4 separate regions of the Homo sapiens genome follow, and regions 2, 3 and 4 are each linked to region 1. Evidence: promoter capture Hi-C in 16 types of primary human blood cells and fetal thymus (Javierre and others, 2016). All regions are on one chromosome and are shown on one strand. Each heading gives the region's core, a stretch centred on a gene start or on the middle of the fragment in contact. The rest is flanking DNA. Distances are from core to core; before and after follow the strand shown.

The links. Contacts are between HindIII fragments. The CHiCAGO score rates a contact against its expected background, and 5 or more counts as called.
Region 2: a fragment that was not itself captured here is called in contact with the fragment with the promoter of CEND1 in region 1 in 1 of 17 cell types (naive B cells); the score reaches 5.3 in naive B cells.
Region 3: a contact is called between a fragment that was not itself captured here and the fragment with the promoter of CEND1 in region 1, in 5 of 17 cell types (total CD8 T cells, naive B cells, naive CD8 T cells and 2 more). The highest score is 6.5, in total CD8 T cells.
Region 4: a contact is called between a fragment that was not itself captured here and the fragment with the promoter of CEND1 in region 1, in 4 of 17 cell types (erythroblasts, naive CD4 T cells, endothelial precursors and 1 more). The highest score is 5.4, in erythroblasts.

The regions. Positions count from the first base shown.
Region 1 is chr11:786,176-792,304 of GRCh38, forward strand. It overlaps CEND1 (cell cycle exit and neuronal differentiation 1), which reads right to left and starts at 3,915. Exons shown (of 2, transcript NM_016564.4): 1 at 3,855-3,915; 2 at 940-2,483. The coding sequence starts at 2,401. The coding sequence ends at 1,952. It overlaps SLC25A22 (solute carrier family 25 member 22), which reads right to left. Exons shown (of 10, transcript NM_001191061.2): 8 at 6,129; 9 at 5,967-6,042; 10 at 4,300-5,893. The coding sequence ends at 5,740. RefSeq lists a silencer at 3,826-4,055. The HindIII fragment of the contact is 25,064 bases long and covers 1-6,129 here.
Region 2 is chr11:337,009-343,137 of GRCh38, forward strand. No RefSeq gene overlaps it. Among named protein-coding and RNA genes, the nearest start is that of IFITM3, 19 kb to the left of the region's middle. The HindIII fragment of the contact is 759 bases long and covers 2,851-3,609 here.
Region 3 is chr11:384,053-390,181 of GRCh38, forward strand. No RefSeq gene overlaps it. Among named protein-coding and RNA genes, the nearest start is that of PKP3, 7.1 kb to the right of the region's middle. The HindIII fragment of the contact is 255 bases long and covers 3,825-4,079 here.
Region 4 is chr11:1,049,174-1,055,302 of GRCh38, forward strand. It overlaps LOC124902605, which reads left to right and starts at 519. Exons shown (of 4, transcript XM_047427955.1): 1 at 519-601; 2 at 706-789; 3 at 2,450-2,670; 4 at 5,066-6,129. LINC02688 (long intergenic non-protein coding RNA 2688) reads left to right here and starts at 707. Exons shown (of 4, transcript NR_160890.1): 1 at 707-789; 2 at 2,450-2,670; 3 at 5,066-5,219; 4 at 5,941-6,129. The HindIII fragment of the contact is 1,775 bases long and covers 2,197-3,971 here.

The DNA.
Region 1 (6,129 bases), core at 2,665-5,164:
GGGCAGGTGAGCTGGGAGCTGGAGGTGTGAGCAGTGTCTGCACAGAGCCTTCTCTGTACGCTGGGCTCAGATCAACGGGCTCAAGGGATAGGCTGCCTCCTTGACTTCTAGGAGGCAGCAGCATGAGTGGGAGTCGAGGGAGGCTGTCGCAGGGCGGCCTGGGTGGGAGCAACAGTGTCGGTTTTAGCTGGTTCTACCCCGTGGGACCTCCGTATCTGTCTGGGCCTGGGTGTGGGTGCATGAACGAGGACTGCTGCTCTGGGGAGGGAGTGTGCCAGGTGCCAGAAGGGCAGGAGGAAGACATGGCTGTCCCCCCACACCAGCTGGAAGAAGGCTTGGGGGAGGAGGTGGTCAGGGAGCTCTTGTCTGCTGGCCTCAGCCACCTGTCGGGTGAGACCCAGAGCCAGGAAGACAGAGCTCAAAGGAGCCCTTCCCAGGCACCGCAGGCCTTGCTGCTTGTTGGCCCGCATGCTGCAGCCCCACCCGTGGCCAGGCCCACCAGCAGGCCCGCCGGTTGGACACCTGGTCAGAGTGGGCTGGGGTCCATGGATGAGAGGTGTTGAGGGGAGCCTCTTCTGCACTCAGGATGTGGGGCTCGCTGCAGTGGGGGCTGCGGAAGGGCCCCTGCCTGGCTGGAGAGCTCAGCCTGAGAAGCAGGGCTTGCCCTCCCCGCACCCCATGTCCTCACTGCTTCCTGGTCCTGTAGCCCCTGGGTGTCCATCTTGGGTCAGGACCCACAGGAAGGCCAGGGAGGAGGATGGAGCAGGGCCTGGGTGGCGATCCGGGCCGAGGCCCCTGGAATAAGGGCATAGGAGTGACAGGGGGTCCCGTCAGAGGGTCCTGGATGCAGCATCCCTCCCTGGAAAGCCTGGGGTGTGGGCGTGACACATGCGACCCTGCGTCTCCCAGCCACATGCAGATGAGGATGCAAGAGCAGCCTTCAGACGACAGAGTTTATTTCAGACTCAGCCTCCACTCAGGCCCGGGGTTCCTGTGGCCACTGGCCAGTGAGGGCAGGCCACGTTCTCACAGTGCCCACCACCACCTTCTGGGAGTTCGCCTGCTGCTGCGCGCCAAGGGCCACGCTGGGACTGGATGTGCTAAGGAGGGGCTGCACGAGGGGCTTCCCCAGGTGCAGTGGGCTGAGGACAGTGTGTGACGGTCGCCGCCAAAAGCAGTTCTACTCTACCTGTTATTGCATTATACGCTGGTTAGACTCAGGTGGTGCTGGGTGCAAGCTGGAGGGGCAGTCTAGCGGGGCAGGGCGGGCACAGCTGTGAGGGGCCCTCGACATCCCTGCCTCCCCGCCGGCGTCGGGGCTCCCCTGGAGCACAAGCTGGGGAAGGCGACCCTTGGGCAGCACCCCCTCCACACGCAGGCTTCAGGGCTCCGTCTTCCCACCCAGCTAGGCTTGGGTGGTGTGGGGAGGTGGCATTGAGGCTCTGCTGAGGTGAGTGCCCACCCCAGGTCCGTCCCACTGCATTCGCCCAGGCAGACCCCCGGGGGGTACGCAAAGAGCAGAAATGGGGCGAGTGGAGCCACCGCGCCCTTTAATGTCCCCACGAGGGCCGGGCCCAGGCCCAACCCATCCCGGCACCCCCACCTGCACTCAGACCAGCCCTGGGGGCCCAGGATCACCCAGCCGCCAGGGGTGGGGGGGGCCACACACAGGGTCCATTCCTTTCTTGCCGTTCCCCAGCTGTGCCCTCGCCCCACATCCTGTGCTGTGGACCCCGGAGCCTGGGCTCTTTCTGCCCTGGAGGTTGGGGAAGTCCTGGGTCAGCAGGGGTGGGCTCGGGCGTCCTCTTCACCGTGCGCGTGTGTTGGGGGCGTATGTAGGTGTGTAATGAATGTGCGTGTGTACGAATAGGTAAGGGTGAACTCTGCATGCACTGGCTTCCTCGGGTCTGTACAGGAAGTGGCTCCGTGCCCCCCGCCTGGCCCCCAGGTATTATTTTTTCCGGACCAGGAAGGCCACACCGAGAATCAGGGCTATGGCTGCCACGGCCACACCCCCAGCCACCAGCAGGGGGTTGAAGTTCTCACAGGACCAGGGACCTCGGCCCCCAGGCCCCCCACTGGCAGCCTCATCTTCCTCCGCCCCGTCCCCAGGACCCTTGGGCTCCGGGGTTGCATCGGGACTGCTGGGGACCGTGGGGGCTGGCTTCAGGTTGCTGTGGTTGTTGAGAAGGGCAGGGTCGGCCTTGGCCGAGGTCTTCTTGGCAGGTGCCGTGGTGGGGGCTGCTGGCGGCTGCTGCTTCTCGGCCGGGGCCTCCTTCTTCGAGGGCTTGGTCAAGGGGGCTTTCCCATCGGCTGCCGGGGGTACCTTGGCCTCGGTGGTGACCTGGGGCACCTTGGTGTCGGGCTTGGGGCTGCTGGCTGACTTCCCTCTGGACTCCATGGTGGGCGGGGCGTATGGGACAGGCAGGTGGCTGCACCAGAGGGGCTCAGGACAGTTTGTCGCCCCTGGGCATTCTATGGGCCTGGAGGGAGACACAAGGGAGGCTGCGCGCGGGTCCAGTCCCCCCTGTGCTGCCCCGACCACCTGGTCCCCAGGCAGCCCCTGCCCAGTTCTCTGGACTCTCTGGAGCCCCAGCTCAGGGGCCTCCCGTGGGCCTCTGACACTTCTCTTTCACGGCCTGGACTCCATCTGTCCATGACCACTCCTCAAGGGGCCCCTCCAGCCGCAGAGGCAAGGGCCACGCACAGGTGGGAGGAGGTAGGGGACCCCACTGTGCTCCATAAAATGGCCCATGCAAATGCCACATCCTCCCACCAGCCGGGGGCAGGAGGCTCTTGGTGGGGAAGTAAGGATCAGGCCCAGAGAACTCGAAGGAAGAGCATTCTCCCCTCCAAGGAGGTGATCGGAGCCCCAGTGGGAGAGCTGACTGCATCCCCTCCTCAGGAGAGCATTCCTGCTTTGCAGAGATGGACACTAAAGCACGGAGGCTGTGACCTGGCCAGGGTCCCAGGGGGAGGAGGGCGGGGAGGGGCAGGAGCTGGGATCTCAGGCAGCCATCAGGGTGGGTGGGCCCACAAGAACCCAGACTTGAGAAAACTGGGGTGTCTCTCCAGGAAGTCAGCGTGGGGCTGTGCTTCCAAGGGCCGTCTGCCCCTCCCCAGCCTCTGGGGCCCCCTCCTCAGCATGGGCCGTGCCTGCCTCCAGCCCTGGAGCAGGGAGTCCTCGCCCAGCCCAAGGCTGTGCTGTCTCTGTGGGCAGAGGGTTCCTGGCGTTAAACAGGGTGGGCACATGCTGCACTTGGCCCGCGGGTCAGGGCGGAGGACAGGGTTCTGGGCTGTGGGAAAGGCGGTGCCCAGATTCTCAATGACCGAGGCAGAGGTGGGAAGGGCCCTGGGGGCCCAGCCGCCCTGAACCTGAGTGGGTCTTGCCCCAAAGCCCCAGAGGCCGCCTGTCTGCCTCTCCCAGGGAAGGATGAGAAATGCCCTCCAGACCTGCAGAGAAAGGGAGGCACGTTCCCCACCCCCCGCCAGGTGCATTGACCACACTGAAGGTCACCCGAAGGTCACAGCATGATGAGGGCGTCTCCAGAAGAGGCCCAGCTGCTGCCACCTCCCAGGGAAGCCCAGCCGTCCCTTCACCCCTGCAGTTCTCGGGGGGCTCAGCTGCTGGGCATCAAGTTTGCAAAGAGCAGGTGGTCTGCCCCCCCAACCTCGCTATTTGTGGCACTTACATCCCGGCCGCCGCCTCCCTCTCCCGGGATCAACTGAGCCCTGGAGAACTGGGGGGCCCGCGCGCAAACCCAGTGACCTTCAAGGCCCGGAGCCGCCTCCTCGCCCCGCAGGACGCCGCGCCCGCCCCGCCCGCCCCGCCCGCCGGGAGCCCCCCGCCTTACGCGTCCTCCGGCCTCCCCGGGGCTGCGCGCTCCTCCGCGGGATGACGGCGGCTGCGAACGCGGAGGAGAGCTCGGGAGTTTCCCACAATGCACTGCTCCCGGCGCAGGAGGGCGGGGAGGGGGAGGGGCGACCGGGCCCCGCCCCGCCGGGAACCGTGGGATCCGCAAACCCAGCTCCGCCTTAGATCCAGGGGTAGAAACTTAGGGTCCGAGAGAGCAACTGCGGGGTCCAAGTCCCATCTGGGACTGCCAGAGGCAGGAGGCGGGTCCCGCTCAGCATCCCCTCTAGGCCAGGGTGCCCCTTGGTCGGTGGGTGACGGGTCGGTGGGTGAGGGGTCGGTGGGTGGGTGCGCAGGCCTAGCCCTGCAGTCTGAAGGGAGCCAGTTATGGGAAGAGGGGACTGCCCTCCCCCGCCCCCAAACAGACCCCCAGACAGACAGCAGCATCTACTTAGAATATTTATTTATTCTCTGACATGACAAGACACAAAAAGTTACAACTTCTTAAAACTCTTCAAAAGAAAAAAATATAATTCTGTAAGCAGCAGCAGCAGCTTCCAAGGTTCTGATGTGACGGGAGGGGCAGCTCCCAGGAGCAACCGTGAACTGGGGGGGTCCAGGCCTGAGCCCCAGGTAGTGTCGCTGGGAAGGGGCCTCTGTGGAGGGCCCCGGTTTTGGGGACACAGCACCAGCACATCAGGGTCTGTCACCAACACGATCACATGGCCAGGGCGGGGCAGGGAGAGCTTCGGCTCACAGCAGGGATCGCCCGGTGGCAGGGGGGATGGGGCTTCTGAAGTGTGGTCAGGGGCCTTATGCCCGGAGGCGGGAAGGATGGGGCTTCTGCAGTGTACCCAGGGGCCTTATGCAGAGGCTGAAAAAGGAGGGTGGGCCCTGAGAGGACTTGGGGGTGTGGCAGCTCCTGGCCCTCCCTCCAGAGCAGGGCAGGCACCCTCAGGCTCCACACTGGTCCCAATGCCCGCCCTGCTCCCTGGCCAATCCCAGGCCAGGGTGGAGGACTCAGGAGAGACCAAGCTGGGTAAGTTAGTTCCTGGACGGGGTCAACAGAGCCTGGGGCACACACAGCACACAGAGCGCCTGGCCACGGCGGGAAGGGGGGCAGTCCCCAGCAGCCCCATCCCCAAGGGCCAGGCCAGATCCCCACAACACACACACGCATGCACACACACATACACACACACATGCACACAGACCTCACAATCTGGGCCCCAGCCTGGGGTGGGAGCTGAGGAGCCCACCAGAAAGTCCCACAGTGGGTGGCGGGCTTGCCCCAAGAGTCAGACCTCAGGGCAACCCCTCACTTGGGATTCCTGGCTCAACAGAGAGGGCAGGAGACCCCAGTCCTCTTGCAAGGCTGGCCAGGGAGGCAGAGTCAAGTCCTGCCAAGGCGACAAGAGCGGCTGGGGAAGGACGGAAGGGCTGGAGAGCCGCTTGGGTCCAGCAGATTCAATAAATAGGTTTGTGTGGGGTGCCTGTGTGGGCCAGGATGGCTGTGGAGACTGGAGCTGGTGGACTGGGGGTATGGTCCAGCCTGCCCGGCCCAGGCCCGGGGGCCCCCAGCCCAGAGACCAGCTCTGTCCCTGGGGGTGTTCAGGCCAGGGCAGGATTGGGGCAGGGGCTAGCTTGAGGAATGTAAAGATTTCTGCATTTTCTACATAAATGAGACATTGATCCCAACGGTGCAGGCAGCACCCCGGGGGGCTTGCGTGTGCACCACCTATGTGGACCCTGCACCCTGCCCCCTGCTGCCCCTGCCGACGGGAGGGCTGGGGAGGGGTCTTCCCTTGCTCCGTCCTGGGCTAGCTGCCTGGCTCCAGCCCCACACCGGCCCTGCCCAGCTGGCTGGGGTGGAGCGGGTGCTGGGCTCAGGCCTGGGGGTCCTGCAGCAGCCCCAGCAGGGACTCCGCGATGCCCAGGAAGTAGACCACCTGTGCGATGCCGAAAAGGGGCGCGATGACCAGCGCGCGGCAGTAGGCGCCCTTCAGGAAGGCCGAGGGGCCCTCGTGCCGCAGGATCTTCCTGTGGAGGAAGGACGAAAGGGTCAGCCCGGTACGCAGGCCCCCAGGCCCCACCCGCCGTGGGACCTCCCCACCTGGCACAGTCCAGGATCCCAGAGTAGGTGTCCTCGTTGACGCCTCGCTGAAGTGACTGGAGCCGCGTCTTCACCACTGCAAGGGGCGCTCGGGTCAGTGTGAGCCTGGCCAAGGGCTCAGTCCCGCCCCATCCCCAGCCGGGCGCCATCCCATGCACTGACC
Region 2 (6,129 bases), core at 1,980-4,479, 450 kb before region 1:
TTTTGACTTCCTTCTTCAAGAATGTTTTCAATGCAGATGTGAGGGAGAGACACATTCTGAGGCTTTCTGGAAATATCTTTATTATGCTCTTAGATTTGAATAACAATTTGGCTGCATATAAAATTCTAGATTTTTTCCTTCAATTCTGTAAAGTATCACCCTATAATCTTCCTATTTGTGTTAAAATATAAACATAAAATCATGAAAAAAAAATTTTTTTTTTGAGGCAGAGTCTCGCTCTGTCGCCCAAGCTGGAGTGCAGTGGCGTGATCTTGGCTCACTGCAAGCTCCGCCTCCCGAGTTCCCACCATTCTCCTGCCTCAGCCTCCTGAGTGGCTGGGACTACAGGCGCCCGCCACCGTGCCCGGCTAATTTTTTGTATTTTTAGTAGAGAAGGGGTTTCACCGTGTTAGCCAGGATGGTCTCGATCTCCTGACCCCGTGATCCACCCGCCTCAGCCTCCCAAAGTGCTGGGATTACAGGCGTGAGCCACCGTACCCGGCCATGTCGGGTTTTTAAAAGTCTACAACTCTTTCTCTTTTTGAGATAAGGTTTCACTCTGTCACCCAGGCTAGAGTGCAGTAGCATAATCATAGCTCACTGCAGCCTCAAACTCCTGGGCTCAGGCGATTCTCCCACCTCACCCTTTTGAGTAGCTGGTACTACAGGGATACCCTGCTAATTTTTTCTTTTTTAGAGAGGGGTTTTTGCTATGTTGACCAGGTGAGTTTCAAACTCCAGGCCTCAAGCAATCCTCCCACCTCGGTCTCCCAAAGTGCTGGGATTGCAGGCATGAGCCATCACACCTGGCACTAGAACTATTTTGAGGGGTGGGGGTGAGGGGACAGGGTGTTACTCGGCTGCCCAGGCTGGAGTGCAGCGGCATGATCATGGCTCACAGCAGCCTTGACCTGGGTTCAAGCAATCCTCCCACCTCGGCCTCCCAAGTGGCTGGGACCACAAACATGCATCACCACACCTAGCTAATATATATATATATATATATATTTTTTTTTTTTTTTGGTAGAAAGAGTCTGGCCATGTTGCCCAGCCTTAGAAGTCTTTTTAATTTCTTTTTCGAGATGGAGTCTTGCTCTATCGCCCAGGCTGGAATGCAGTGGTGCGATCTTGGCTCACTGCAATCTCTGCCTCCTGGGTTCAAGTGATTCTCCTGCCTCAGCCTCCCGAGTAGCTGGGACTACAGGCATGACCTACCATGCCCGGCTAATTTTTTTGGATTTTTAGTAGAGACGGGGTTTTGCCATGTTGGCCAGTCTGTTCTCAAACTCCTGACCTCAGATGATCCGCCCGTCTCGGCCTCCCAAAGTGCTGGGATTACAGGCGTCAGCCACTGCTCCCGACTAGAACTTTTAATACAGAATTTCAGATTTGACTTTGAAAACCTCTTGAGCCTAGAAAGCCATGCCATTCCATCAGACTTTTCCTGCAATACTGTATTAGTCCATTTTCATGCTGCCAATAAAGACTGAGCAATTTACAAAAGAAAGAGTTTAATTGGACTTAGAGCTTGCAGTGAGCAGAGATTGTGCCACTGCACTCCAGCCTGGGCGACAGAGCAAGACTCTGTCTCAAAAAAAAAAAAAAAAGCACACCTTCATACCTTATAATTTTTTTTTGTTTTTTGAGACTGAGTCTTGCAATCTCTGCTCACTGCAACTTCCACCTCCCGGGTTCAAGCAATTCTTCCCCCTCAGCCTCCCAAGTAGCTGGGATTACAGGCGTGCACCACCACATTCGGCTAATTTTTGTATTTGTAGTAGGGATGGGCTTTCACCATGTTGGCCAGGCTGGTCTCGAACTCCTGACCTCAGGTGATCCGCCCCCCTCAGCCTCCCAAAGTGCTGGGATGACAGGCTTGAGCCACCACAACCAGCCTCTTATAACTTTCCTTACCCAAAATTCGCCTTCCTTTGTTTGTATATTCTGCATACAGAGCTGCTTCCCTTATTATTTCTCGTAATTTTAATTACCATATAATTAGAATTCTAAACACTTAGTAACTTTAAAAGCTTTTCTTATCTTTTTTTTTTTTTTTTTTTTTTTTGAGTCAGGGCCTTCTTCTGTTGCCCAGACTGGAGTGCAGTGGTGCTATCACAGCTCACTGCAGCCTCAACCTCCCAAGCTCAAGTGATCTTCCCACCTTAGTCTCCCAAGTTGCTGGGACCACAGGCATGTGCCACCATGCCCAGCTTTTTTTTTTTTTTTTTTTTTTTGAGAGGAGTCTCACTCTGTCACCCAGGCTGGAGTGCAGTGGCGCGATCTTGGCTCACTGCAACCTCCGCCTCCCGGGTTCAAGTGATTCCCCTGCCTCAGCCTCCCGAGTAGCTGGGACTACAGGTGTCCACCACCATGCTCAGCTAATTTTTGTATTTTTAGTAGAGATGGGGTTTCACCATGTTGGCCAGGATGGTCTCAATCTCTTGACCTCGTGATCCACCCACCTCAGCCTCCCAAAGTGCTATGATTACAGGCGTGAGCTACCACACCCAGCCCAGCTAATTTTTATTTTTGGTAGAGATGGGCTGGTCTGGAACTCTTGGCTCAAGTGATCCTCCCACCTCAGCCTCCCAAAGTGTTGGGATTACAAGCATGAGCCACCACACCAGCTATTAACCTTGGTTTCTAGTGAAAACTAGCAAGTAAACACTTGTCAACTTTTTGCATACATACCAACATTCTGCAGATTGGCAAATCTGTGAATATACCATGTCATAATTTCTAGAAGTGTGTGTTTCTTTATCATACAATTTTTCAATATGGCACAGGATGTGTTTGCTGGCAGAGACAAGTATGTTTAGTACTTCTATAATAAGAAGCCAAAAGTAGACAAGCTTATGTTTAGCAATCAAAGTTTCAGTATTTTATGTTATTCAAAAAAAATAAGGTTTAAAAAATATCTTTCTAGATAGTCGATGAATAACCATCATTTAATTTAACTTGACTCTAACAGTGCAAGCTACCAAAGAGAATCGGCAAGCTGCTTTTAAGTAGATGTTTCATAACAGCAGACAAGGCTAGACATCATCAAATTGCTTTTCTTGGTGGCAACTCTTGTAACAGAGATAACATAAGTTTTTGCCTAATAAACCTAGGTAAAACCAAAGTTGTGTGTCTGCGTTTTATTTAATGCTGACAACTCTAAATATTTCATTAAACCAGAAAAGTTTAAATAGCATTTATTTACCAACTATAATCTCAGATGACATGAAATTTAAAAAACATTTGGGTTAGTTTCTATATTTCTAAGAGTTTAAGGATAACTCAACTTATATAAGCTCATATTTTTCTTTAAGCCAATTAAATACCACTTTTTTATAAATTAATTTTGGCAACGCAATCTAGAGTAGGAAAATGTCACGTGTACATGTATACATAGACATACATAAACATACAGACAGAAGCAGATCATATAGCTTTCTTTTTTTTTTTCACACTCTTCAGACACTAGAGTGTTACAGCTTCATTCTAAAATCTTAGCCACATGCCAAGCACAGTAATACAAAACACACTGTTTAATACAAGAACAATAGGCTTCAAATCTTGTTTCTGGCACATGGAACAAGTCAAAATTACTTGCCAGATGATTAAAGCTTTTATTAATATTTGCGGGAAAGACTTAAGGTTTTTCATTTGCCCAATTTCCATATAGCTCTTTTTTTTTCTTTTCTCATAAGATGGCTTCCCAAAATTTGCATATCAAAGAGATAACCCTCAGGTGTTTGAGCAGAGTAGAAAATTTACATCTCAAAGGCACAGAACTTAGACTTCAGCCTTAAATATCTTCATTTGAAGAAGAGAAAAAAAGAAAGAAATGAAAAAAAGAAAGAGAAAGAGAAAAGAAAGAAAGGAAGAGAAAAAAAGAGAAGGAGAAAGAAGGAAGGAAGGAAGGAAGGGGAAGGGATGGGAAGGGAAGGGAAGGAAAGGAAAGAAAGAAAAAAGCAAGCAAGCAAGAACAAGGAAAGAAAGAAGGAAGGAAGGGAGGGAAGGGAAGGGAAGGGAAGGAAAGAAGAAAGAAAAAAGCAAGAACAAGGAAAGAAGGAAGGAAGGAAAGAAAGAAAAAAGAAAGAAAGAAAAAGAAAAGGAAGGAAGGAAAAGGAAAGAGGAGGAAGGAGGGAAGGAAGAAAGGAAGGAAAGGGAAGGGAAGAAGGAAGGAATGAGAAAGAAAGGAAGGAAGGAAAAGGAAAGGAAAGAAAAGAAAAGAAAAAAGAGAGAGAAAGCAAGCAAAGCGCTAATTAAGCCAAGATGGGGGTCAGAAATGCACGCTAAGTAAAGGTAAGTTTTGTGATGTAGATTTAAATCAATGCTTTCTCCATTCTTTTTTTTTGTTGTTTACTTTGTTTTGTTTTGTTTTGTTTTGAGACAGAGTCTTATTTTACAACCCGGCTGGAGTGCAGTGGTGCGATCATAGCTCACTGCAACCTCAAACTGTTGGTTAAATTTCTTTGTAAAGATGGGGTGAGAGGGTTTGGATTTGTGTCCCCACCCAAATCTCATGTCAAATTGTAATCCTCAGTGTTGGAGGAGGAGCCTGGTGGGAGGTGATTGGATCATGGGGGCAGACTTACCCCTTGCTGTTCTCAGGATAGTGAGTTCTCATGAGATCTGGTTGTTTAAAAGTGTGTGGCACCTCCCCCTTCTGTCTCTTCCTCCTGCTCCAGCCATGCAAGACGTGCCCCCTTCCTCTTCACCTTCTGCCATGATTGTAACTTTCCTGAGGCCTCCCCAGCCATGTGTCCTCTTTTCTTTTGCCTTTTTTTTTTTTGAGACACAGTCTTGCTGTGTCACCCAGGCTGGAGTGCAGTGGCGCGATCTCAGCTCACTACAACGTCCACCTCCCAGACTGAAGCAATTGTCCTGCCTTAGCCAGCTGAGTAGCTGGGATTACAGGTGCACGCCACCATACCTGGCTAATTTTTGTATTTTTAGTAGAGATGGGGTTTCACCATGTTGGCCAGGCTGGTCTCAAACTCCTGACCTCAACCTGCCTCAGCCTCCCAAAGTGCTGTGATTAAGGCATGAGCCACCACACCCAGCCTAAACCTCTTTTCTGTATAAATTACCCAGACTCAGATAGTTCTTTACAGCAATGAGAGAAGGGACTAATACACCGACTCTTACTATGTCACCCAGGCTGGTCTTGAACTCCTGGGCTCAAGCAACCCTCCTCCCTCAGCCTCCCAAAGTGCTGGCATTATAGGCATGAGCCACCACTTCTATCTCCTTTATAGAATTAAATTTTTCTTACAAAGGGTCTCAAAAGAATTGGATCAAAATAATCTTTATGCCAGAGTAGCACATTTGGGGCCTACGTTGGCTAGATCAGAGGCTTCTCAGCCCAGTTTATGCTTTTTAACTCCATCACTGAGTTCAGGGTGGCGCCTACTGATGAACTGGCAAGCATTTTCCATGCCTGGAGTTAGCATGAATAGGCCAGGATATAATTCTACATCATCAGCAAATTTCTGGGACAGGGAAACCTTTCACTATTGTTCTGAGCTCAGATTTTAATCAAGATGTCAATGTGGTTAAAGAAGGAAGGCCTGGTTGATCTAAAGGCCTAACACGATGAAAGTTTGGCTAACTTTCTTTTTGCCTCTGGGGTATAAAAGTTACTGAGCAAAAAAGTGAGTAGTTCAGAGCAATCTGGCAGAGCAAGATGGAGAGAAAGAGAGAAGGGCTCATCTGTGCTGAGTCAGTAGACATGCCCTTTTTCATTGTCAATTAACTGCTTTGGTTTTCTATTTGCCTTTTTCTATGGAGTCTTTTAGAGAGACAACTTGGGATTCATTTAGTCTTTTAGCAGCCTGTGCATGCCAATCAAAAAATCATCTGGGCATGGAGGTTCTCGCCTGTAATCCCAGCACTTTGGGAGGCTGAGGCAGATGGATCACTTGAGCTCAGGAGTTCGAGACCAGCCCGGCAACATGGCGAAAACCCATCTCTACTAAAAATACAAAAAATTAGCTGGGCTTGGTGGTGCATGCCTGTAGTCCCAGCTACTCAGGAGGCTGAGGCAGGAGAATCACTTGAACCCAGGAGGTGGAGGTTGCAGTGAGCCGAGATCACACTACTGCACTCCAGCCTGGGTGACAGAGTGAGACTCTGTGT
Region 3 (6,129 bases), core at 2,702-5,201, 400 kb before region 1:
CTTACATTCTAATACGGGGGGGAGCGGGGCACGACGACGCCATCAATAACACATCTGGTATACCAGCTGGCGGCAAGGGCAGTGGAGAGAAAGGAAGCCCGGGAAGGCAGCAGCCCATGTGAGCGTGACTGCGTTTCTAAGCAGGGTGCTCAGAAAGACCAAGCGTGAGAAGGTGAAGGCGGCCGAGGACACAGGCGGGGGAGGGCAGGGGTCAGCGGCAGCCTTTGAGGAAATTTCTTAAAAATCAATGATAAGGCTGGGCATAGTGGCTCACACCTGTAATCTCAGCACTTCGGGAGGCTGAGGCAGGAGTGATGGCAGCGGTGGCCCATCTAGAGTGGACACTGCCAAGATGCTGGCCGCAGCGGAGAGGCATGGCAGGGCCTCCCACTCCACAGAGCAGGCAGGAGCTCGGCCCTCCTGGGCACTGGGTTCGTTTGCGTGCACCTCAATATTCCTGTGCTCTTGGGGGCCCAGGAAGGCCCCCACCCGGCCCCCTGTAGGCTCAGAAGTACCTGCTCCTGCTGCCCCTGCGGAGCCTGGTGCTTCCAGTAGCTGGAACCGGGGCCCACAGTCCGCTCCCAGAGGTGTCTCCCAGCATGGTTGCGAGTCGGGTGAGGGGCGGCCCCAGGCTGCCCCTGAGTGTTGGAACTGCAGGGGGATCTTGTGGTGACATCGCCTCCCTCTGCCCCGGATGCCGACCCGGGCTCTGTGAGGGCCGAAAGTCTTCACCCCAGGCTGCAAGGAGGCGGACAGGGGAGCAGGATGACTGCAGGAGCAGCAGTGGCGGCAGCAGGTCCCCAGTGCCCCATGTCCCCAAGGCTGCCGACGGTGCCACCCCCACCCTCACACAGCTGGGCAAGACCCACTCCCAGGCCTGGAACCCCCACAGCCGGGCAAGACCCACTCCCAGGCCTGGAACCCCCACAGCCGGGCAAGACCCACTCCCAGGCCTGGAACCCCCACAGCCGGGCAAGACCCACTCCCAGGCCTGGAACCCCCACAGCCGGGCAAGACCCACTCCCAGGCCTGGAACCCCCACAGCCGGGCAAGACCCACTCCCAGGCCTGGAACCCCCACAGCCGGGCAAGACCCACTCCCAGGCCTGGAACCCCCACAGCCGGGCAAGACCCACTCCCAGGCCTGGAACCCCCACAGCCGGGCAAGACCCACTCCCAGGCCTGGAACCCCCACAGCCGGGCAAGACCCACTCCCAGGCCTGGAACCCCCACAGCCGGGCAAGACCCACTCCCAGGCCTGGAACCCCCACAGCCGGGCAAGACCCACTCCCAGGCCTGGAACCCCCACAGCCGGGCAAGACCCACTCCCAGGCCTGGAACCCCCACAGCCGGGCAAGACCCACTCCCAGGCCTGGAACCCCCACAGCCGGGCAAGACCCACTCCCAGGCCTGGAACCCCCACAGCCGGGCAAGACCCACTCCCAGGCCTGGAACCCCCACAGCCGGGCAAGACCCACTCCCAGGCCTGGAACCCCCACAGCCGGGCAAGACCCACTCCCAGGCCTGGAACCCCCACAGCCGGGCAAGACCCACTCCCAGGCCTGGAACCCCCACAGCCGGGCAAGACCCACTCCCAGGCCTGGAACCCCCACAGCCGGGCAAGACCCACTCCCAGGCCTGGAACCCCCACAGCCACCTCAACCTCGCTTCCTGCCGTGTCCCGGGAGCCCGTGAGCACCCAGCTGAAGGCACAGCCGGGTCTCGTGGAACCAGCCCTGGGAGCAGTGGGTTTATTTGTGCAGGGTTGGCAGGGCGGGAGCACCACGGGGGCAGCTGCAGCCAGCCAGGTTGCTGCTGTGTGGACCCAGGCCTCCTGGTGGTCTTGGGGGCCAGGGAGGACCCCCTAACACCACAGGCTTGGGGGTGTCCCTGCTCCTGGCGCCCACTCTGATCTTGGAGTGGGGTCGGGGCCAAGCCCGGGTGTTGTTGCAGCCCAGCCGGGTGTGCACCCTCAGAGCAGTGCCGAGATGCCAGTCCCCTGCCACCTCAGCCCCTCCAGACTTTGGGCACCAATGAGTGTGGGAGGGAGGCCAAGATGGAGCTGGGGGCAGCTCAGTGCTGGCCTGTGGGCACCCCTTGGCACGAGCGGCCTGGGCACCATGGGCGGCAGTGGGAGGCAGACAGGCTCCTGGGAGGGAATGGGCAGGTCCCTGGTGAGGCTCCACCTTCAAGCCAGGGTGGGCCTGAAGGCTGGGGGCCAGGCTGACAGTCCTGAGGACCACAGTGGGGACTTGTGGTGCCTTTTCCGGGCCCACCCATGGCTGCCCATGCACCAGTTGGCATGAATTTCCTCCCCTCTGAGGCCCATAAAAGCCCTGGGTTCAGCCAGAGTGGAGAAGAGGACAGAGAGACGACGGGATGACCAGCTGCAGAAAGGAGCTACCCTCACTAGGGCCTCCTCTTTGCTGAGCATTGCAGGCCTTGGGTCAACCAACTGCAGAGAGGAGTTACCCTCTCTGCTGATAGCTGCAGGCATTGGGTCGACCAACTGCAGAGAGGAGCTGCCCTCTCTGCTGAGAGCTGAACACTCGTTGGGACGACCTTCCTGCAGAGAGGAGCCACTCACTCCCAGCCTCCTCTCTGCTGAGAGCCTCTGAGCCGTTCTGACACTTAATAAAGCTCCTCTTCGTCTTGCTCACCCTCCACTTGTCTGTGTACCTCATTCTTCCTGGACACAGGACAAGAACTCAGGCAAAGGTGCTCCTGGCCACAGAGGTTTCTGGCCAGAAAAGCAACACCCCAAATATCCCACAACATGTTTGGGGGCTCGTCTGGGATCTGCACAAGGGTAAGTAAAAGTGGATCTTCTCTTTCTGTCCTTTCTTCGTGGTCCTTAAACTCAACAGCTAAAATGAAAGAAAAATACCAGGCCTCTGTCAATTAGTTAAAAGTGACGACTAGTCTCCAAGCACCAGACTCAACACATGGAGGCCAGGCTTGCTGGGGAGGACACTGTCAAGCCCCCATCACCCTCAGGTATTGGGAATGTTGGCTTTGTTCCAACCCAGTTTTCCTTCATGGAGGTCTAGCTGTCACGTGGGACCAGAAGGAGGTCCTAGAGCAACTGGGGGTATTTGGCTGAGGTTACCCCTTGGAGTTATCCAAAGGCCCCTGGACTGACTCCAGTCCCCAGCCTCCCATGAGGGTGTTGGCACAAAGACCTCCACTCTTTCCTATCATTCTTTTCTGTCTTTCTTTTGTGGCTGTCATGGTTCCTATCTCTTCTTTATGTACAATGTTAAATGTTAAGGATGTTGTTGCAAACCAGAAATATTACTGGGTAGAATGAGCATTTGACTGAGTCATCAAAACTATAAAATGGAAGGTTAAGAATAGCACAGACGAAGTAAAGTGTGCCTTGGTATCTGTATGTAAATTTGTGGCAAAAATGTTCTTGTTATTTCCTTGGCCGCCAACTTGGTGCCAAGCACCTTGAGACCCAGAAAAGAAGCATGGTCTCAGGAAGGAAGCTTTTCTGTAAACGTGAGACCCAGAAGAGAAGCATGGTCTCAGGAAGGAAGCTTTTCTGTAAGTGTAAGACACAGAAGGGAAGCATGGTCTTGGGAGGAAGCTTTTCTGTAAATGTGAGGGCCAGTGATCCCAGGCCTCGTGTGTGCAGGCTTTCTTTGCCTTGCAGGGTAACTTGGACCTTTGCCTCTACTGTAGGATTGATCCAGCCCTCCTGGTGGCCATCTCAGGAGAGGCTGCAAGAGGCAATCCCAGGGAAATAGAGAAGCAAACCCCAGAGGCACCTCCAGTGGAGGAATCAAACCCTTCACTCCTCCCTACTCAGGTTCTCTCTCAAGCTTTCCCCAGCCTAGAAATCCTCATTTTAGGCCATTCTGAGTCAAATTAAGGGGGATCTTGGCAAGTTTTCAGATGGCCCTGACAGATACATGGAGGCTTTCCAGAACTTAACCCAAGTATTTGAGCTCTCCTGGAAGGATATCATGTTACTTCTGAATCAAACCCTGACTGCTGAAAAGCAGGCCACCCCGCAAGCGGCAGAGAATTTGGGGGATGAGCTGTATATCTTATATAGGGCCAGGGAAGAAGAGAAGCTTTATCCAATTGGATGAATAGCAGTACCATTGGAGGACCCTAAATGGGACCCCAGTGATAAAATGGGAGAATGGAGGATGAAACACTTTCAGATGTGATACTGGAGGGCTTGTGAGGGAATGGGACTGGGCTTCTCATTGCACTTGGCTGGAGGGCTTATGAGAGAAAGGGGCTGGGCCTCTTGATTGCACCAGGCTGTCCATGGTAGAGCAGGGATTGGCCCCACTGCCTTCCTGGGGGATGGCAGGGGCCTTGGTGAAGTGTGCCTCTCTGTCTCCTGACTCAGTCAATGAACGGCTGGTCCTAGGGGATGAGGAGATGAGTTCATTGCACAGGCGGCCCCTGATGTCAGAAGGAGGATGCGGGAATGGGCTGTGGGACCAGATGGTACTTTGGGGGCATCCTGGGAGGGGCCACCTCAGTTTTTTCCAGTGGGAACCGGGAGGAAGTCCAGAAAAGAGAGAGGAGATATAGGAAGAAGGCAAAGGCTCTTAACAGCTGCCCTGTGGGCTCATGGACCCCAGGATCCCTAGATACACCTGTGACTGCTGCAAATGTGTTGGGCTAGGGCCCCACAGGAGGGTTTCCAGACAGTGCAGGGAGGAGGGTCCTTCATGAGGGTTTCCACACAGTGCAGGGAGGAGGGTCCTTCAGGAGGGTTTCCACACAGTGCAGGGAGGAGGGTCCTTCAGGAGGGTTTCCACACAGTGCAGGGAGGAGGGTCCTTCAGGAGGCTTTCCAGACAGTCCTGGGAGGAGGGTCCTTCAGGAGGGGCTTTCCAGACAGTGCAGGGAGGAGGGTCCTTCAGGAGGGGCTTTCCAGACAGTGCAGGGAGGCCACCTTGACCCTGTCCAGTTTGCCTTGGGGACTGTAGGGTCCAGCCCTACGGGGCTTAGTGGGTGTTCTCCCCATGTGCGGAGACCAGAGATTGTAATAAATAAAGGCACAAGACAAAGAGATAAAGAGAAAGCAGCTGGGCCTGGGGGACCACTACCATCAAGACGCGGAGACCAGTAGTGCCCTGAACGGCTGGGCGCGCTGATATTTATTGCATACAAGACAAGGGGGCAGGATAAGGAGGGTGAATCTTCTAAGTGATAAGGTGAAGCAAGTCACCTTACGGTGACCCTTCCCTCTTAGGTAGCCGAAGTAGAGAGGAAAGGCAGCATACATCAGTGTTGTCTTCTATGCAGTTATAAGAACGATCAAAGACTTTAAGACTTTCACTATTTCTTCTACCGCTATCTACTACGAACTTCAAAGAGGAACCAGGAGTACGGGAGGAGCATGAAAGTGGACAAGGAGTGTGATCATTCAAGCACCACAGGGAGGGGGTTAGGCCTCCGGATGACTGCGGGCCAGGCCTGGAGAATATCCAGCCTCCCACAAGAAGCTGGTGGAGCAGAGTGTTCCCCGACCTCTCCAAGGAAAGGAGACTCCCTTTCGCGGTCGGCTAAGGAACGGGTGCCTTCCCAGGCACTCGCGTTACCGCTTGACCAAGGAGCCCTCAAGCGGCCCTTATGTTGGCGTGACAGAGGGCTCACCTCTTGCCTTCTAGGTCACTTCTCACAACGTCCCTTCAGCACCTGACCCTATACCCACCGCTTATTCCTAGGTTATATAGTAATGGAACAAAGAGTAATATTAAAAGCTAATGACTAATAATGTTTATAATAATGATTGATAATTGTCCATGAGCATCTCTATATCTAATTTGTATTATGACTATTCTTATTCTATTTTCTTTATTATACTGAAACAGTTTGTGCCTTCAGTCTCTTGCCTGGGCACCTGGGTCATCCTCCGCCCACAGGGGACCGCTGGAGGACAGACCATCCCTGGAGACGTGGGTTGCCGGACCTCGGGCCAGTCTCCCAAATGGTACAGCAGGACTGATGGGTCCCCAGCCTCCTCTCCCCAGCTACAGTCGTCCAGACCACCATTGCCATCCAGGAACCCCAGGGATTGTAGGGGTCAAGGGAAGGAGGATGGACCTCGTCCTGGACTCCAGAGTTCTCCTCTCCAATCTGGGCCCCCCTCCCCATCT
Region 4 (6,129 bases), core at 1,834-4,333, 260 kb after region 1:
GCCTCCGAGCCACACCTGCCTCCCGCAGGCCTCCAGTTGGTGCCCACATGCAGCCCCCGCCGTGGGGTCACCCTGGGGTAAGGGTCTCTCCTCCCCTGCTAACCTTCTGCTGGGTCTTGGCATCCCTGGGATGAACCCTCCTGGCCTGGACCTTGCCGGCCCACATCAACCCCCAGCCCTCTGCTCCTTGGCCTCACCCACAGCCTGCAGAATGTAGGTGAGTTTCCTGATGATAATATAATAATAGCAATGATGATGATGATGATGATGATGGCAATAACAATGATGACAGTCAACACTGCCGCGTGCCGGGCTCTGGCCCTTTGCATGTCTGGGCCGGCTGTACAAGGCACTGCTGGGGCTCCCGGGCTGGGAGCCAGGGACAGGCACCGTCACAGCAGCCAAGGGGCCCCCCTACCACCCCAGCACCTGCTGGCCCTGAACCAGCTGCTCCTTGAGAGCTTTGACAGACTCTTCCGCTTGGCAGCATTTTAATCTGCTGGTGCAAGAGCCTTGTCGCTTCCTCAAAGCCTGTGCCCATGGCCGTGGGCAGCTGCCTGTCCCTGTATAGGCAGAGCTGCGTCATGCCCTGTGGCCCCAGGTCTGGCTCTGGGGTTCTGGCTGGGCGGGGCCTGGAACCTTCTGGGAGTCACCATTGACTGGCTGCAGCCACCGGCTTCCCAGCAAGGATGTCCTCTTCTGTAGGAAAATGGGGACGTCGGGAGCATTCTCTGGACAGCAGGAGATGCATGTCGACAGGCTGGCCCTGCCTCTTCCCACCCCAGAGTGGTGAGTGGGGATTCTGGGGACTTCCCTGGCCCCCATGGGCCTCGCGTGTCCTGGTGCCCATGTGTCTCCAGTCCCAGGGTCGGCCACGGTGTGGACCCCTCCACTTTCCTCCAGGCCTGAGGTGGGGCCCGGGCGGCCTGTCAAAGAAGAGCCCAGCCCAGACCCTCCCCAGATCCCTGGGGGAAGGAGGCCACCAGGCACCCTGCCTTCCTGCTGCCTGTCAGGGTGAATCTCAGGGGACCCTGGTGCAGGAGGGGCTGGCTCTGAGCTGGACAGGCCTCTGGGGTTGCCCTGGTGGCCTTCCCTCTCTCTGGGTCAGACGTGCCCAGGCAGGGAGGGTCCAGGCCATGACAGAGCCGGGCCAGCTGGGGACAGGGCATCCCCCAGTGCAATCCTTGTAGCGAACGGGTCCTAGAGTGCAGCTGGCGGGACACTCCCGCCATCACTGGATTTACTGCAGGTGGAGACGGGTTCTGTACCCACGTAGATGAGGAAACAGGCACAGAGAGGGGGCAGCCTGCCCAAGGTCACCGGGGAGGGAGTGGAGAGGCTGGATGCCCTTGGGCCCAGACTGCAGCCTCCCCTCCCCGATGTGCTGCGGCCCCAGTGTCCTGGGCCCCATGTGGCGCCTGAGCCCACAGGTGTCACCAAAGGTCTGAGTTGCGGGGACAAAGGCGGGGACAGGCCCGAGGTGCGGGGACAAGGGCGGGGATGGGCCTGAGGTGCAGGGACAGAGGCGGGGACAGGCAACCCCTGCGGTTCGAGGGGTAGGTGGCCACACGTCAGTCCCTGGGAGGGCCAGGCAGGAGGTGGGCCCAGCGGGGCTGGGAAATGAGGGGCCAGTGCCCCCACGCTCACTGCAGGGGATGTGAGAGGGCGAGTGGTCGCTCAGCCACACCCACACCCGTGTGTACAGGACCCACGCCCGCCCGCCTTGCTGTCCCGCCCGTGCACGGCTCACACAGCTTCTCCCATTATTCAGGCGCTGCCGGGCCCTGCAGGACTCAGATCGTCCCTGTGCCACTTGGCAGGGTCACCCTCACGCCTGCCCGGTGGCCCCACCTGCCCCACCTGCCCAGCTTCTCTCCCTTCTCAGTGCTGTCTGTCCCAGAGCCTCCCATCAATGGGGCCAGAGGGCTCTGGCCCGGCTGTGGGCTGACTGTTCTCCCCAAGATGCCTGAGAGCCACCCGGGCACCGGACTTGCCAACATGCAGGCACACGCAGGCACACACCTGGGCCACACGGCCCTGAGCACACGCCTTGCCCAGCCCTCCTCCGGGCTGTGGTGCGGGTGCCAGGTGCCACCTGCTGGCGGGCTACAGCATCACGGCTCTCGCCCTCCGGAACCTTCCATGGTGCCACACCAGCCTCTGGTCTGGCTGCAGACGGCTTGGGCTGGGCAGGGAAGCTTCCACTGTCGGGGAACCTGGGACCACAGTCTTTGCTCCAAGCGCCCTGGGCGGGTAGAGGCCAGGTCCGGTATGAGGAGCCCTGGTTCCCTGAGGTAGACAGAGCCAGGCAGACGTTGAGGAGACATGGGGGCTGTAGCCCTGGCCCCACTGCCCGACTCTCTCTCTGCATTTCGGGAGCTGGCAAGATCCAAGGGGGTCCCCAAGGCCCTGAGGCTGCACTGAGCACCCCTTTCCTGCTCATTTTCAGATGCAGCGGTGTCCTGGACCCCTGGGGAGAGGTGACCCCCCCAGCAGGAAGCTGGGCCTGGTTTCTGTCCCTCTGCAGCCACAAGGCCTGGCTAGGATGCTGGGAGCACCACACCCTGGAGACTCAGCTCACCAAGGACTCAGGGGCGGGGGCTCCCCTGGCACCTGGGAAGCTGGGCCCCCGGCCCCCTGGACTCCCACCCAGACACCATCTCAACCCAGGTCTGTCTGCTCTCCCCGTCACTGCCCTGGGTTCTCCACTCCTGGACCCGACCCTGGTCCTGGGGCAGTGTCCCAGCTGCTGTGTCCCAGGCCCCCCATCCACTGCCCTTGGCCCACCTTCTATGTGGCCCATTAGAGGGGTGTGGGGGCTGCAACCTGCTTCTGCTGAACCCCTAGGCCTGCCAGGGGGCATCAGGATTCTGCACAGAGAGGCAGGGGACCCGGCCAGACATGCAGGTACCCACGTACCTAATTCTGGGCCTTGGGGCAAGGACTGCGTATTTATCCTGGCCCAGGCAAGTCTGGGGGTGTCTGAGGGGTGGTGAGACGTCTGGGCAGATTGTCCCTGCCCTGCTCTGCTCTGCCCCACCCTGGCCAGCCCTCCTGGCTTCTCAAGGTGCTCCTGGCCACGATGGCACAGTCCCCCAGGCCCAAAATGTGCCCCCATGCTGCCCGAATGCCAGTGCGGGGGCTGGTAGCAACCAAGGCCATGCCCTCCCCTCCCCCTCCTGGGGCACCTGCCCCCACGCTGTGGCCATGGCTCCCTGGCTCCACCAGCTTCTTGTGACCCCTGAGGCTCCCCAGCTCCTGGCCCCCCATGGAGAGTTCCCTCCCCATAAGGGGGGGCCAGACACCCCCCTGTGCCCACTCCTTGGGAGACTGGCATTAGATCCTGGCTGTGGGACAGGCTGGGCCACTCTGGGGGTGAGACCAGGCTTCTCCCACCTGGGGGACCCATCCTGGCTCCGGACTTGGGCGGGTGACAGCCTGGGTTTCCTGTGTCCTCACCGCCCGCTTATCAGCAAGATGGGGATGTGGATGACAGGAGTGCTGGCCACGGAGGGCCTGGTGTGGGTGGCCGTCGGGACGAGGGTAGTGTGGGCGGCCACGGCAGTTGGTGCTACTGCTGGGAGGGGCCGAAGGTGAGGCCCTCCTGGGCTGTGGGTCCCTGTAAGCCACTGCCCCCGTGGGGTGTGCAGTCACCAAGCCGACCTGCTGCCGGGGTTCCGCCCCCTCCCTTTCCCTTCTGCTTCCCCGGCACCTGTGTCCCAAGCCTGAAGCCCTGTCCGTGTCAGAGGTGGCACCTCCCTGGGCACGGGCACTTGGACGCTGGTGCCTCCCCTGCTGCGGACCCCTTTGCTGTGGTCAGGGCCTCCTCCCTGCACTGGCCCCGCCTGTGACCGCAGGCCTGGCGGGGCCCTCAATGGCCACAGAGGGCACAGGCCGGGGCCAGGAGGGCACCGTCTCCTGGGGCACAGATATGCTGGAGTGAGCTATGGAATTGTCCATCAGCAGCGGCAAGCTTTGCTGAGCGCCAGCTGTATGCAGAGCAAAGGCGGGCCAGCCGGGAAGGGCCAGTGAGGACCTGGAGTCCCCAGCATCCCCAGGAGCCTGCACCCCTACGCGGGGGACGCCTGGGCAGCTCCTCCCTCCTCCACTCCCCGCCCTCTCCTCCCCTCCTTCCTGCAGTTCCCACAGCTGTTTGGGTGCCTCCCGTGGCGCCTGGTTGAGCTGCAGGGGGAGATGTGTGTGGACACTGCAACCCTCCCGAAGCTGGGCCTGGAAGAAATGACTTCCCCAGAACCTTATCTGGGCCGGAGAGGGGCGTTGGCAGCGGGGGTCTTGCCGCCTTCCGGTCCTCTGCATGCCAGGCACCACCTGGGGCCGGGCCAGGGCAGGCTGCCTGGACACCATGGACCTGCCCAGCTGTAGGGGAGGTGTGTCCTGCAGCCCTACCCGAGGCCCAGGCCTGCGTGGCTGAGAGGACTGAGGACGGCTGACCCCCTTGGTGACTGCCTGGGCCCAGAGGGGAGTTGGGGGAGTGGTCAGCTGGGTGTGGCCAGCCCTGGGGGAAGGATCCAGGGACTGTGTCCACTTAGGGATAGGAGGCAGCTAGCAGAGCCCTCCCAGCTGACCAGGGGAGGCCCTGTGGGCACAGGAGGGGCCCCAGGTGTAGGTACAGGTGCAGGGCTGTGCGGCTCTGTGTCACCCAGGTGGAGCGTCTTGCCCCGTTTGATGGCTGACAAAGTGCCCTTGAATGCGTCAGACCCAGCGTGGTCCCAGGGTCCTGACCCTAACATACCACCCCAAATTACCCTCACCCCAGCCTACCCCTGCCCTAAATTCACCCCAAGCCTCCACCCAAACCCCTTAGTCCCAACACCTTAACCCTAGACCCAACCCTACACCCCAAGCCCTAATCCCTAACCGCTAGCCTCACCCTAACCTTCCTACCGGATGCCACCTGGCAAACATCCTCCTGGCCCCTATCTGCCCCTCCCCCGGGGATCCGGGAGGCAGTGGGGTCCCTGGGAGGCTGCTCCCTGCAGAACGCGATGGACAGATGCATGGGCACCGGGCCCCAGCACCCTCTGGCTTCCTTCATCCTCCCCAGGCACTTCCCCCGGGCCAGAGGGCAGCCTGGCAGCCCTGGACTCCGGGAGGGCCGAGTCTGGGGAGCTGGACGACGTCACATTCCACTCTTGATGATGCCGCCCCAGTCCTACAATCTGGACAGCAGGAGAAGCTGCCCATTTCCTCCATCTCCGGTAATGAGAAGCAAATGCTGATCCTGGCCGTCTCCTGGCTCTTGGGTCCCTAGGTTCCTGCTGCCCCTGCCAGTTCCTGGAAGATGCCAGCAGGAGGGAGGGCAGTGGAGCTGGACTTGCGCCCACAACAGGATCTGGCCATAAACGCAGTCAGGGCGAGGCTGCGGGGTGGGTGGCTGAGCCTCCTGGTGGACTATCTCCCCTCCCACCCCCCGCCCTGGCCCGCAGCTGTTGGCTCTTCCTGGGAAGCCACAGCCTTTGTTTGTTCCTTGAAGGAGCTGGTGCGTTGCCTGCGAGCTCCTCTGCAGGCTTGGGGGTCGCACCTGCTGTCCACCCCCCTCGAAACCAGCTCCATCCAGCAGCAGGCTGCAAGCCTGGAGAGGCCACCGGGGACCAGGCAGGGAAACTGAGGTCCCAAAAAGGCAGGGAACAGGTGCAGGGGGCCTGTCTGACCTGCGCTGGGACTGGGCCAGGTGAGTCTCCTCCAGGGCCCAGCCCCATCTTGGACAGAGGAAGTTGATAGTCAGGAAAGGCAGGAGTGGCCTCTTCTAACAATTTCAGCTCTGAAGGGGCCAAGGGTGGCGATGCTGACAGCATTTCCTCCAGCTCCCACCTGCCTGCTCCGGGGAACTCCCTACCCAGGCATTGATATTCACCTGGTGATACTAATAATTGTCTCAGGTGATAAATTGTCTCAGCTGCTCTCCCACATGGCCCACAGGTCCCTGGAGGTTCCCCGGATCCTTTCAGGGAAGACCATGGGCCCTAAACGATCTTCATAACAAAACTGAGAAGTGGCCTGGCTTCTTCACTGCGTGCCTGTGTGCTGGGATCTAGCGTGGCCCGACTGGGCAGCTCCTTTCCTTCCCTGACGCTGCTCCAGGGGAAAGAAGGACCAGGGTCAATCCGG